Linked DNA regions of Homo sapiens: region 1 is linked to region 2. The links are contacts of gene promoters, found by promoter capture Hi-C in human tissues and cell types (Jung and others, 2019). All regions are on one chromosome and are shown on one strand. The core of a region is centred on a gene start or on the middle of the fragment in contact, and the rest is flanking DNA. Distances in the headings are between cores, read along the strand shown. Region 1 has its middle 88 kb from the start of DEPDC1. Region 2 holds the start of LRRC7 (leucine rich repeat containing 7).

The links. Contacts are between HindIII fragments. The study calls those that stand out against the background at their distance.
Region 1: a contact is called between a fragment that was not itself captured here and the fragment with the promoter of LRRC7 in region 2, in 1 of the 25 tissues and cell types used here (dorsolateral prefrontal cortex).

The regions. Positions count from the first base shown.
Region 1 is chr1:68,582,299-68,587,616 of GRCh38, forward strand. No RefSeq gene overlaps it. Among named protein-coding and RNA genes, the nearest start is that of DEPDC1, 88 kb to the left of the region's middle. The HindIII fragment of the contact is 4,640 bases long and covers 793-5,318 here.
Region 2 is chr1:69,565,145-69,571,178 of GRCh38, forward strand. It overlaps LRRC7 (leucine rich repeat containing 7), which reads left to right and starts at 2,778. Exons shown (of 27, transcript NM_001370785.2): 1 at 2,778-3,497. The coding sequence starts at 3,496. It overlaps LOC105378789 (a long non-coding RNA gene), which reads left to right. Exons shown (of 12, transcript XR_947488.3): 12 at 1-706. RefSeq lists a silencer at 2,202-2,431. The HindIII fragment of the contact is 6,759 bases long and covers 1-5,737 here.

The DNA of each region.
Region 1 (5,318 bases), core at 1,863-4,362, 980 kb before region 2:
ATGATCAAGTTGGTTTCATCCCTGGGATGCAAAACTGGTTCAACATACGCAAATCAATAAATGTAATCCATCATGTAAACAGAACCAATGACAAAAAAACCACATGATTATCTCAACAGATGCAAAAAAGGCCTTCAATAAAATTCAACACCCCTTCATGCTAAAAACTCTCAATAAACTAGGTATTGATGGAACATATCTCAAAATAATAAGAGCTATGTATGACACACCTAGAGCCAATATCATACCGAAAGGACAAAAGCTGGAAGCATTTCCTTTGAAAACCACCACAAGACAAGGATGCCCTCTCTTTCCACTCCTATTCAATATAGTATTGGAAGTTCTGGCCAGGGCAATCAGGCAAGAGAAAGAAATAAAGAGTATTCAAATAGGAAGAGAGGAAGTCAAATTGCCTCTGCTTGCAGATGACTTGATTATATATTTAGAAAATCCCATTGTCTCAGCTCGAAATCTCCTTAAGCTGATAAGCAACTTCAGCAAAGTCTCAGGATACAAAATTAATGTGCAAAAATCACAAGCATCCCTATACACCAATAATAGACAGAGAGCCAAATCGTGAGTTAACTGCCATTCACAATTGCTTCAGAGAGAATAAAATACCTAAGAATACAACTTACAAGGGATGTGAAGGACCTCTTCAAGGAGAACTACAAACTGCTGCTCAAGGAAATAAGAGAGGACACAAACAAATGGAAAAATATTCCATGCTCATGGATAGGAAGAACCAATATCGTGAAAATGGCTGTACTGCCCAAAGTAATTTATAGATTCAATGCTACTCCCATCAAGCTACCATTGACTTTCCTCACAGAATTAGACAAAACTACTTTACATTTCATATGGAGCCAAAAAACAGCCCATATAGCCAAGACAGTCCTAAGCAAAAAGAACAAAGCTGGAGGCAGCATGCTATCTGACTTCAAACTATACTACAAGGCTACAGTAACCAAAACAGCATGGTACTGGTACCGAAACAGGTATATTGACCAATGGAACAGAACAGAGGCCTCAGAAATAACACCACACGTCTACAACCATCTTTTCTTTGACAAACCTGACAAAAACAAGTAACGGGGAAAGGTGTCTCTATTTAATAAATGGTGCTGGGAAAAATGGCTAGCCATATGGAGAAAACTGAAACTGGATCCCTTCCTTACACCTTAGACAAAAATGAACTCAAGATGGATTAAAGACTTAAACCTAAGACCTAAAACCATAAAAACCCTACAAGAAAACCTAGGCGATACAATTGAGGACATGGGCATGGGCAAAGACTTCATGACTAAAACACCAAAAACAATGGCACAAAAGCCAAAATTGACAAATGGGATATAATTAAACTAAAGACCTCTGCACAGCAAAAGAAACTATCAGCAGAGCGAACAGACAACCTACAGAATGGGAGAAAATTTTTGCAATCTATCCATATGACAAAGAGCTAATATCCAGAATCTACAAAGAACTTGAACAAATTTACAAGAAAAAAACAACCCATCAAAAAGTGGGCAAAGGATATGAACAGACACTTCTCAAAAGAAGACATTTATGTGGCCAATAAATATATGAGGAAAAGCTTATCATCACTGGTCATTAGAGAAATGCAAATCAAAACCACAATGAGATACCATCTCACGCCAGTTAGAATGTCGATCATTAAAAAGTCAGGAAAGAACAGATGCTGGAGAGGATGTGGAGAAACAGGAACGCTTTTACACTGTTGGTGAGAGTGTAAATTAGTTCAACCATTGTGGAAGACAGTGTGGCGATTCCTCAAGGATCTAGAACAAGAAATACCATTTGGCCCAGCAATCCCATTACTGGGTATATACCCAAAGGTTTATAAATCATGCTGCTATAAAGACACATGCACACATATGTTTACTGTGGCACTGTTCACAATAGCAAAGACTTGGAACCAACCCAAATGTCCATCAATGATAGATTGGATAAAGAAAATGTGGCACATATACACCATGGAATACTATGCAGCCATAAAAAAGATGAGTTTATGTCCTTTGCAAGGACATAGATGAAGCTAGAAACCATCATTCTCGGCAAACTAATACAAGAACAGAAAACCAAACACCACGTGTTCTCACTCATAAGTGAGAGTTGAACAATGAGAACACATGGACACAGAGAGGGGAACATCACACACTGGGGCCTGTCAGGGGGTGGAGGGCTAGGGGAGGGATAGTATTAGGAGAAACACCTAATGCAGATGACGGGTTGATAGGTGCAGCAAACCACCATGGCACATGTATACCTATGTAACAAACCTGCACATTTTGCACATGTATCTCAGAATTTAAAGTATAATAATAATAAAAAAAACCATTAAAAATAAATGAATACTACAATTTGAAAAAAAAAAGAAATCTTTTCTGTACCTGATTTCTGGATACCGCACCTGTTTTTCTACACTTCGTGTCTCCCTGTCACCAAGAGGTCAAGTATAAAGCCTTTATCATGGTATTCAATGCCCTTTATGATACTGCTGTTTTGATTTGAGGCATTATATGCCCCATTGTTTTTCAGCTTCCCTTTCTCCTGCTCTTTATCAAGTACCCTTTTTCTCAACACAGCTAACTACATTTAATTCCCTCAGTATGCCCTTCAAGGAGACATTTGGAAATGATTTTCTTCCTCTTTGTCTTTAAATGTATACTTCCAGGTTCAGATTAATTTTGTGAAGCCCTCTAGGACTATTTCTGAGAAGAATTAATCACTCCTTTCTCTTCCTTCCCTTGGTACTTTAGTTTTTGACCTTTCTACTAAATTCTTCATGGGGAGATTATATCATGTTTATAATTAGCCCAATGATAGTTGAATGAATTTTGAATCATCTTAAATCCTTTTTCGGCACCTCCTGGATATAAATTTTATGGAAATAAAAATAATGTTCCTATGATTTCTTTTCCAGGTTTTCAGTTATTCAGAATATCACTGTTTCCATTTATTGTGTATAGTCAAAACACTCTTGAAGTAGCTTTCTCCCAACAATCTGGATAAACTTCCATCAACAAAGCTGGAGATGTGCTGAGGAGGGCACTGTGGTGAAATGAGGAGAAGAGCCTCTTTCTATTGTGCTCCTACTATTTTCTAGGACAGAATAAACTTTCTGCTGCCAACAGCCTAATGTAATAGCTGGCATAAAGTTTGATAGTGTCTTTTCAAAACCAGCATAACAAAATCCTGGACGGGAAGCACTCTAGCAGCTGCTACAAATGCCCTTAAATTGCCACCCATGCATAACTGTTAGAGTTGTGCTGACGTGTGCTGGCCATGGTTTGTCCCTTTCTAGACTACAGATGAACAGAAGCTCCTTCCATAATTTTGGGATTTTTTTTATCACCTACATAATTCCTGTGTCTCAGCTAGAAAGCCACAGTAGACCAACTTAGCACCAAAATTCATGCTAAGTATGTGAATTTTATCCCATGCTTAACCAGGTTTTTTATTTATCATATATGTCCTGAACCCAGAGGAGATATTTTCTGATGTTTGTTAATCATTCTCCAGCAACAAATTGCTAAGTAATTTCGAAAGATGTAATGCACTACCTAGAGTATGCAATGTTGATCTTTGGACAAGGAAATATGTATGGACAGGGAGATTAATGCACCATCCATACAGGAAATGATGTGAAAACAAGTTGTCAGCCAGTGGCAATGATCTTTAAGAATTAAGTGGTTTTAAAACTTGGGCATTAACTTCAGGCTCTAAGGTAACAGTACAGATACATCTAAATCTCTGGATGTTGTGCATTCCTGAAACATCACTGATAAAGCATATTTCTTTGTAATTCATATGTTTGTTCTAAATTCCAGTTTTAGAAATATAGACCTCAGCAGCCTACATAAGCTCTGTAGAAAGAGAGGGAGAGAGATGTTAAGAAAAAAAAAGAAAGATAAGTATAGCAATATACCAAAACAAACAAACAAAAAAGTTAAAGATGACAGGCTCCAATCAGCAAACATAGAAGCATATATGACCTTTATTTGCTCTATTTGTCAACGGTTGAATATGGCAGTGGGAGCATGGATATTTAGCAGGGGCAGCCAGCAGAATTCTGGTTTTAGTTCTGGCATTAGAATTCTCTGCTGCTTAAATTTTGCATATTAAAATTTTTAGAAAAAATATTTGATTTTATGGTATCTTAGAAGTCTTCTAGTCTCACAGGAAATTTAGATGATAAGTATTTTTGTTTCGTAGGTCATCAATGGTTTCTAACAAGTTAAAAGTAATAAAGAGAAAAACATTGCTATTCTTTGAGTTAAACCTTTGGGATACTATTTTGTAAAACGGAAGGTATTCTTGTTTCTGTATTACAATTTTTTATCTTAATTTGTCAGAAAAATTTGTGAAAGATTGAAATGGGGGAGAAAAGACTATTAGGTATTCCGTCCAGTGTTTTTATTGTCTTTAAGCTATTTCACAACTCTATAAGGTTGATAATACAGATAGAAATGCAAATGATTTCTTGTCTGTGGAAATACAAATTATATCCCCTGGAAATGCAGCTGATACTTTCTCTATGAGTATTAACTGGGTTTTCATCATTCAGCAAATGTATTTCACCATCCCTTATGTGCTACATATGTGTAGTTCTTTCAGTTACCCTTTTGCCATTTGTAACATCTTATTGGTTCCCTCATTATTTAATGAATTAAATAAAATCCTTGGCACATGTATTCATTTTGTATTGTGGTTAATTTTACTTTTTGAAAATGAACTTTGTTTTTTATGTAGTTTTACCAGAAATAGTTTAATATTGAGTGCCAGATTGGTTATCTTTTTCCTTATCTCCACAAGTATTCACTGGGTACATACTATATTCCAGATACTTTAAGACACACTGGGTATACAAAACATAACCTGAACCTGCCTGTAGCATCTATATTTTAAAATTATGGTCTATAATGGCTCTCACATAGGCCAATAAGACCGTACAGGGTAATGAAAAGAATAAAATAATAAAGCCTGTGGGTTTACATAGACTTGGGTTCAAATTCATGTTCTACCTCTTTCCTACAGTGTGACTTTTGGCAAGTTACTTAACTGCTCTGAATTTCATTTTCCTCATTCACAAAATGGGTTATACTAAGACCAACCAGGCAGTATTGTTGTGGAATAAGATAAGATTTTGTATGTGACTTGCTTTGTACTTAGATGGTGCCTGGTTCTTGGCAGGTACTCACTGAATGTTGATTCCTGTTCTGTACCCCATGCTTTCAACCTTCTTTTTAATTTCTTTTGGCCACTGCTCCCTGTATGACAAGTTATTATTGCTGTTT
Region 2 (6,034 bases), core at 1,528-4,027:
ATTCTATGAAACCACTGAAATCTCTTCAATGTCTCATTGTTTAAATAGTAAAGGTGGCCAGATTTTGTTCAAGATTCATAATCTTACAAAAATATGGAGCCGTTGTATTCAAAGCTTATTCTAAAGAGAATACCTTCTCTTTACACCTTATAATCCTGTTTGTTAAAACCCATAACAATTAGGTGGACATCTGAACATATTTAAAGTATTTTATCCATTGGATTTTTATGGTCCAAAATCAAGATTCTAGGACAAGATAAATGGGAAAGGAGGACATGTAGTTTGAAATGTGTTATATCAGCACCATCAATTTTTAATTCGGGGTTCCAAAATTATCTTTTTCTCCATTGGAAAGGAATACGTTTGTTTCCACGTAGGAAACTACTTCCACTTAACACACAGAAGGTAACTTCATTGGTAGGTATGCTGCCTGTATGCAAGGATCTGCAGTTACTCATAACTGGCTGTGTTTTTAAACAGAATAATTTTTGTCAAATATTTTGATACAAAACAATGAAGCCTGAAGTTAAAATAAGAAATTCTGGGCTCAAGTGCAGGGCAACTGGACACCCTTATGAGATGAGCCTTTGTGCCCTTCCTGTAAGTGTGGATTAGATTATCCACCACCTAGATTTAAGAAAGGATTAAATGAAAGAATATATGTGAAAGTACTGTGTTGACTGTATTAAAAAGAACTGGAAACCCATAAAGGACCGCTATAATTGTGTAATTGTTGCGCCAGGTTATTTTGTCAATACATTTTTAATCAGCACCTAAAATATTTCATGTCACTTCATCCAGCAGAGACATTGAGATGTGGCAAAATGTTTAAAAGGACAACACTATAGGTGAAAAAAAAACAGAGCACAACAGTAGTCAATTCAAAAAAAATTCTTTTAACAATTTTATTCCATTTCCTTGCCATTTTCAGAGCCCTTTCTTTTGGTGTTTTGTAACAATATAAAAAACGATCTGGCTTTTCAAAATATACTCCTTTTCCTTTCTATATGCAAATGATATGAAACACTGGCAAGTTGTCCTTAAAAGTCAGCCCACCTTCATGGCCCAGATAAAGTGGGCAATAATTCCTCTCTAGGTCCTCCGCACATTAGGTGCCAGTCTCTCAAGTCTCTTCCTAGACAATTTCTAGCAGCCAGGAAACATAATTTTTGACCTTGAAGACTTTAGCATTCCAAATCTAAGAATACAATCAGGTGTGTTTTCTTTTGGCAAACTGTGAGCTTACACACACCCCCAGAGTGGCATTTGAATGCTGTGCACAGTCTTGACTGTGTTCGAGGTTAGAGAACTAAAGACAAGATTCTTTCTCTCTTGTAATGAAGAAACAAAAACCACATAGCCTATATTCCACAAAAGAATACCAGCATAATATATCCTTTTTTAAAGATGTAATTCATTAGATGTGTGTAGAGAATAAAAGTGTAAATATAGGCTGGGAACGGTGGCTCACGTCTATAATCCCAGCATTTTGGGAGGCCGAGACAGGTGGATCACCTGAGGTCAGGAATTCGAGACCAGCCTGGGCAACATGGTGAAACCCCCGTCTCTACTAAAAATACAAAAAAAATCATCCGGGCGTGGTGGCACGCGCCTGTAATCCCAGCTACTCGGGAGGCTGAGGCAGGAAGATCGCTTGAACCGGGGAGGAAGAGGTTGCAGTGAGCCGAGATCGCGCCATTGTACTCCAGCCTGGTCAACAAGAGCGAAACTCCGTTTCAAAAAAAAAAAAAAAAAGTGTAAATATAGTACTAGCTTCATTGATATGTCTTGCTGCTTCTGGGACTTTAGAGAAGCGTATAAGAAGAAAGTGTGTGTGCCTTTACGTAAGGGAGCATATGAGAGAGAGAGAGAGAGTGTGTGTGTGTGTGTGTGTGTGTGTGTGTGTGTGTGTGTGTGTCAGAGAGAATGTTCATGGCAGGAGGAGGGGCGGTGAATATATGAAGGGAAGTTGGGAAAACCCTTCCCTTTTTGTGCACTCCCAGGGCAGCAGCCGCAACCCCAGAATGAGGAGAGGACTTAAGAGCAGGCACAAGGTTCGCTGCCATGACTGATGTGAAGCGACCTGACGCACAAGCGGAGACTTTTCTCCTTGGCAGCCAACAACCTGCAGCAGGCAAGGCGGGCGGGGGAGGAAACCCCGAGGAGGCGCTCCCGGCCGCCTCTTTGCTGAGATAGCAGGAGCAGCAGCCTGAGGAGCCACGAGCTCAGCGTCACTGAGCTAGTGCGGGTGCAGGGGCGCTCAGGCAGGCGCACAGGCCGGGAGCCGCTTCTGCCGCTCAGGCGGCCGCGCTGCAGAAAGCCGCGCCGCGCTGCCCGAGCGCCCGGGGCTGGCCCGCGAGCGGGAGGAGCCGGCAGCCGCGCTCCGCCCCGCGCTGAGATTCGTGCCACCTGCCTCGAACACCACGGAGGCGAGAGGAACCCAGAGAGCTCGGCCTCTCGTCCCGTTCTCGAAAAGCAGCCTATCGTGACGGAGCCGGGAGAAGGCTAGCGTTTCAATCCTGTGCAGGACTGGGATTTTTCTTCTCATAATTTGGGGGAGCCGGAGTAGAGGTCAGAGGGACAGGCGAGGATCTCAAAAAGAGACCGAGGGTTGTGAACATGGTTACCCCCTCCTATCATTGGAAAATCTCCTTGACATTTTTCACACTTTGAAGCAGCTGCAGCTGGTGTCGTCGGAAAAGGGGGTGGGAAAAAAGAGAGGGGGCGGGGAGAGCGGTGAGACACAGCCAAGAGCCATGAGCGGCGCCTCCTCGCCTGCCAATCCTGGCACCTGTGCGCCGAGCCACTGCACCGAGGAGGACCCTACTCCGGGTGAACACCGGGCTTGAAGCCACGGACACCCAGCCCCAGTGCAGCGGGTTCTCGCCGGCGGGACCTGCAGCCGCCCACTCGGGCCACCGCCACCGCCTCCTGCAGTTGCGGAGCGCTCAGCCCCTCCGAGACGCCCGCTGCGCCCTGGCCCCTGGGGATCCTCGCCCTGCACAGGCGCGGCAACGGGCAGGGGTTGTTACGGAGTTGGGTGCAGGATTCGCCTTTCCTGCTTGTCTCTTCTCCGCCCAGGATTTATTGTCTGTGGAGCCTTCTGGGGGCGGGGAGGGAGCTGCGCCTCCGCCACCGCCGCCGCCGCCGCCGCTGCTGCTGCGGTCGCTAGCGCGGCGCGCTGGGCAGGCTGAGGCTGGGGAGTGGACGCGCTCCTGCCTCCCCCGCCGGCGCTTCGGGCTTCCCCTCAGCCGCTTCCCGCGGGAACCTCTCCAGCCGTCCACCTGAAGGGCACTGGCATCATGGTCTAACGTGGCACCTTCCTGGATTCCCCTCTATCTCCTGTTCTTCCTACCTTCTACTCCTTCCCTCCTCTTCTCCTCCGAAGACCCTGGCGCCCACTCCACTGCGGACCCCTGAACACTTAAGGAATAACCCTTGGCAGCTGCACGACTACGCTCTCCGAAACCTCATGGGCAGTTTCTCCCGCCGGCGATGTGAGTAAGGCACGCTCGCTCCGTGGCGGAGGGTGCTGCGGGGGCCCGGCCGCGGCGACCGTAGGCGCGCGAGGTGTGGGACCCCAGAGGCCGGCCGGGGGCGGGGGTGGCAGGGCGGGAGGCTTCGGCGCTCGCGGGGAGCTGCTTGTGCGGTGGCCGAGGGAGGCGGCGAAGATGTGGTAGGTTGCAGAGCATTTGGAAATGGGGTGCTAACTGGGCGGGTGCATGGGAGCACCGAGTAGCTTGAGCTGGCAAGAGACCTTAAAGGGTTACATACTGCGAAAAGGAAAGGTAAATGTTGGGCGCTGGTGCTGGGACCATTGGTTCCGCTGAAATTAGGTTTAGCTCCTCGTTATTATCTTGGGTATCTCCAGTCAGCTTTTTTCCCAGAGGTGTCTGAGGGATGAAGCGCGTGTTTGATCGTGACACACACACACACACACTCACACACACTTGTGGCAGGACGCACTTGTCTCTTTATCTTGGAAGGTGTTGTATCAATGTCTCGATGTCTGTTTGAAAAAATACAATTAGAAGATTTTTATGTGATTGGGATTGAAGGGAAAGGGTGGGGTTTGGGGGGATGGAGGGGACGAAGGAACATGAAAGACTGGAGGACGGAAAGAAGTGGGGGAGCGTGTTCCCTGGGAGTCAGGGAGAACCTTGCCTCCCTCCCTGTCAGCTAGACAACTCCTGCCCACACATCTCCTTTGTGTGGCACGAGAAGCTGGTGAACCTGCCTATTCCCAATCCAGCGCTGGGTCCCCTTGAGGATCTTGCGTCCTCCTCTCCGAGTTATTAAGGATGCAGGACGTGTTTCGGATTCGACGTGGAAAGAGGGAGGGAAGCACATTAGCATTAAGGTAATCATGGCACCCTGGCTCGTGGACTATTAGATTGGCTACCAGTGGTCTCTAATCTTACTGTTTGCAGAGTCAAGAATGGGGGCGGGGGTTGGGGGACTGTATAGATTGCCTTTTAAAATAGTGTGACTTCATAATAACGGAGATGGCTGAAAGATTGCTTCCTTACACTACTTCTCGGCCATCAGGGCTGAATAAAGGACCCGCCTCCGCCCTCTACTCCGGCTCTTCTCTGGCTGTCTCTTCCCCATCAAGTCATAAAGCGAGCGGGTTGGGCGAGAGGGCACAGCTCGAGGCAGAGAAGAGACGGGGTCACTTTCACAACTCCCAGGAATCGGCTTCAGAAAGGAACCATCTGCGACTCCCACGTTCCTTTCGAAGTTCTCCTTCAAAAGGAATTACAAAAAAAAAAAAAAAAAAAAAAGCGATGGGGGTGGGGATCGGTAAGACACAGGGGTCCTCCCCCTGCTCTTTTCAATTACTTTCCCAATACTCTTTCAACACATCGAATTTACCTGCAGTGGTAACTGGGTCAGCAGGTAAATAGATTTGTATCTGTATATGTCGAAATGTGGCTCTCCTGGTGGATGAAAAGCAATTTTTTGTGAGCATATTCTAACCTAGGCGAAATTTCTAAGCACAATAGAGATTTTTATAGCGTGGGCGAGAAGAGTGCATTCCAGCGAAAGCAGGACACGTGATCCCTCCAACGGGTGAGATACAGTATTAGGAACTCGATTTTCTTTGTTCCAGCCTGAGCCTATGAGATGTTCAGCATCCTGGTTGCTTAAGTCCTCCTATAGAAGGAAAATAATAATAATAATAATAATAAAGTTGATCGGAGGCGAAATAGAGGGAAAATAAGCACAGGTAGACATGCGTGAACGGTTTGAAAGCTTCGCCTCTGCCTTTTTTTACCGCCCACCCTTCACCCCCACCCCTTGCTCCAGCCAGCCCCCTATTTTAAAATGAGGCATTTCCTCTGGGAGACGGTGGAAAAGTTCTCCAGCCCCTGCACACGTGGGTTCTCCAGCACTTCAGAACCTGCTGTGATTCGCAACAGATTACACCACCTTCCCAGTCCAAGTGTCACGCCTCCGTCCAGGCTTCCTTGAATTGGCTTCCAGGAAGGACTCTAAGGGAACTACCACGAGGTGTTTTTTGTTTGTTTGTTGTTTTTTGTTTGTTTGTTTTTACAAAAGACAGTAAAGCAATGAAGTCTTTACTTTTTAGAAATCATTGATTGCACAGGGGGAAAAATGAGCAAATAGGGATGTAGGAATGATTTTATGTTTCCTTAAGAGTCATATGGCTAAAGTATATTGGGGGTGTGTTTAGTGATTGAGTTTGGACTTCTGAGGTGTCTCAGGCCTGTGGAAAATGTCCTGAGGTCAGAATATTTATTAATTTAGTGGAGATATAACTTGTTTATGACCCAACATTTAGAGTTACCTGACTTGGAGATTTCTTATTTCATTTTCACTTAATGTTTTATAATCCATCTTAGTAGGCTAAAGTTTTTAAAAGGTGGTTTATTTATGTGTTATGCTGCATTGCATCATACTAATATGTAATGATAAGAAAAACAGTCAATTTTCATGACTTATTATGAGGTGAGAGTTCTTTATACATTTTTAAGAAAAAACTGACTATCCAAGAAAAAATGTGTACTTA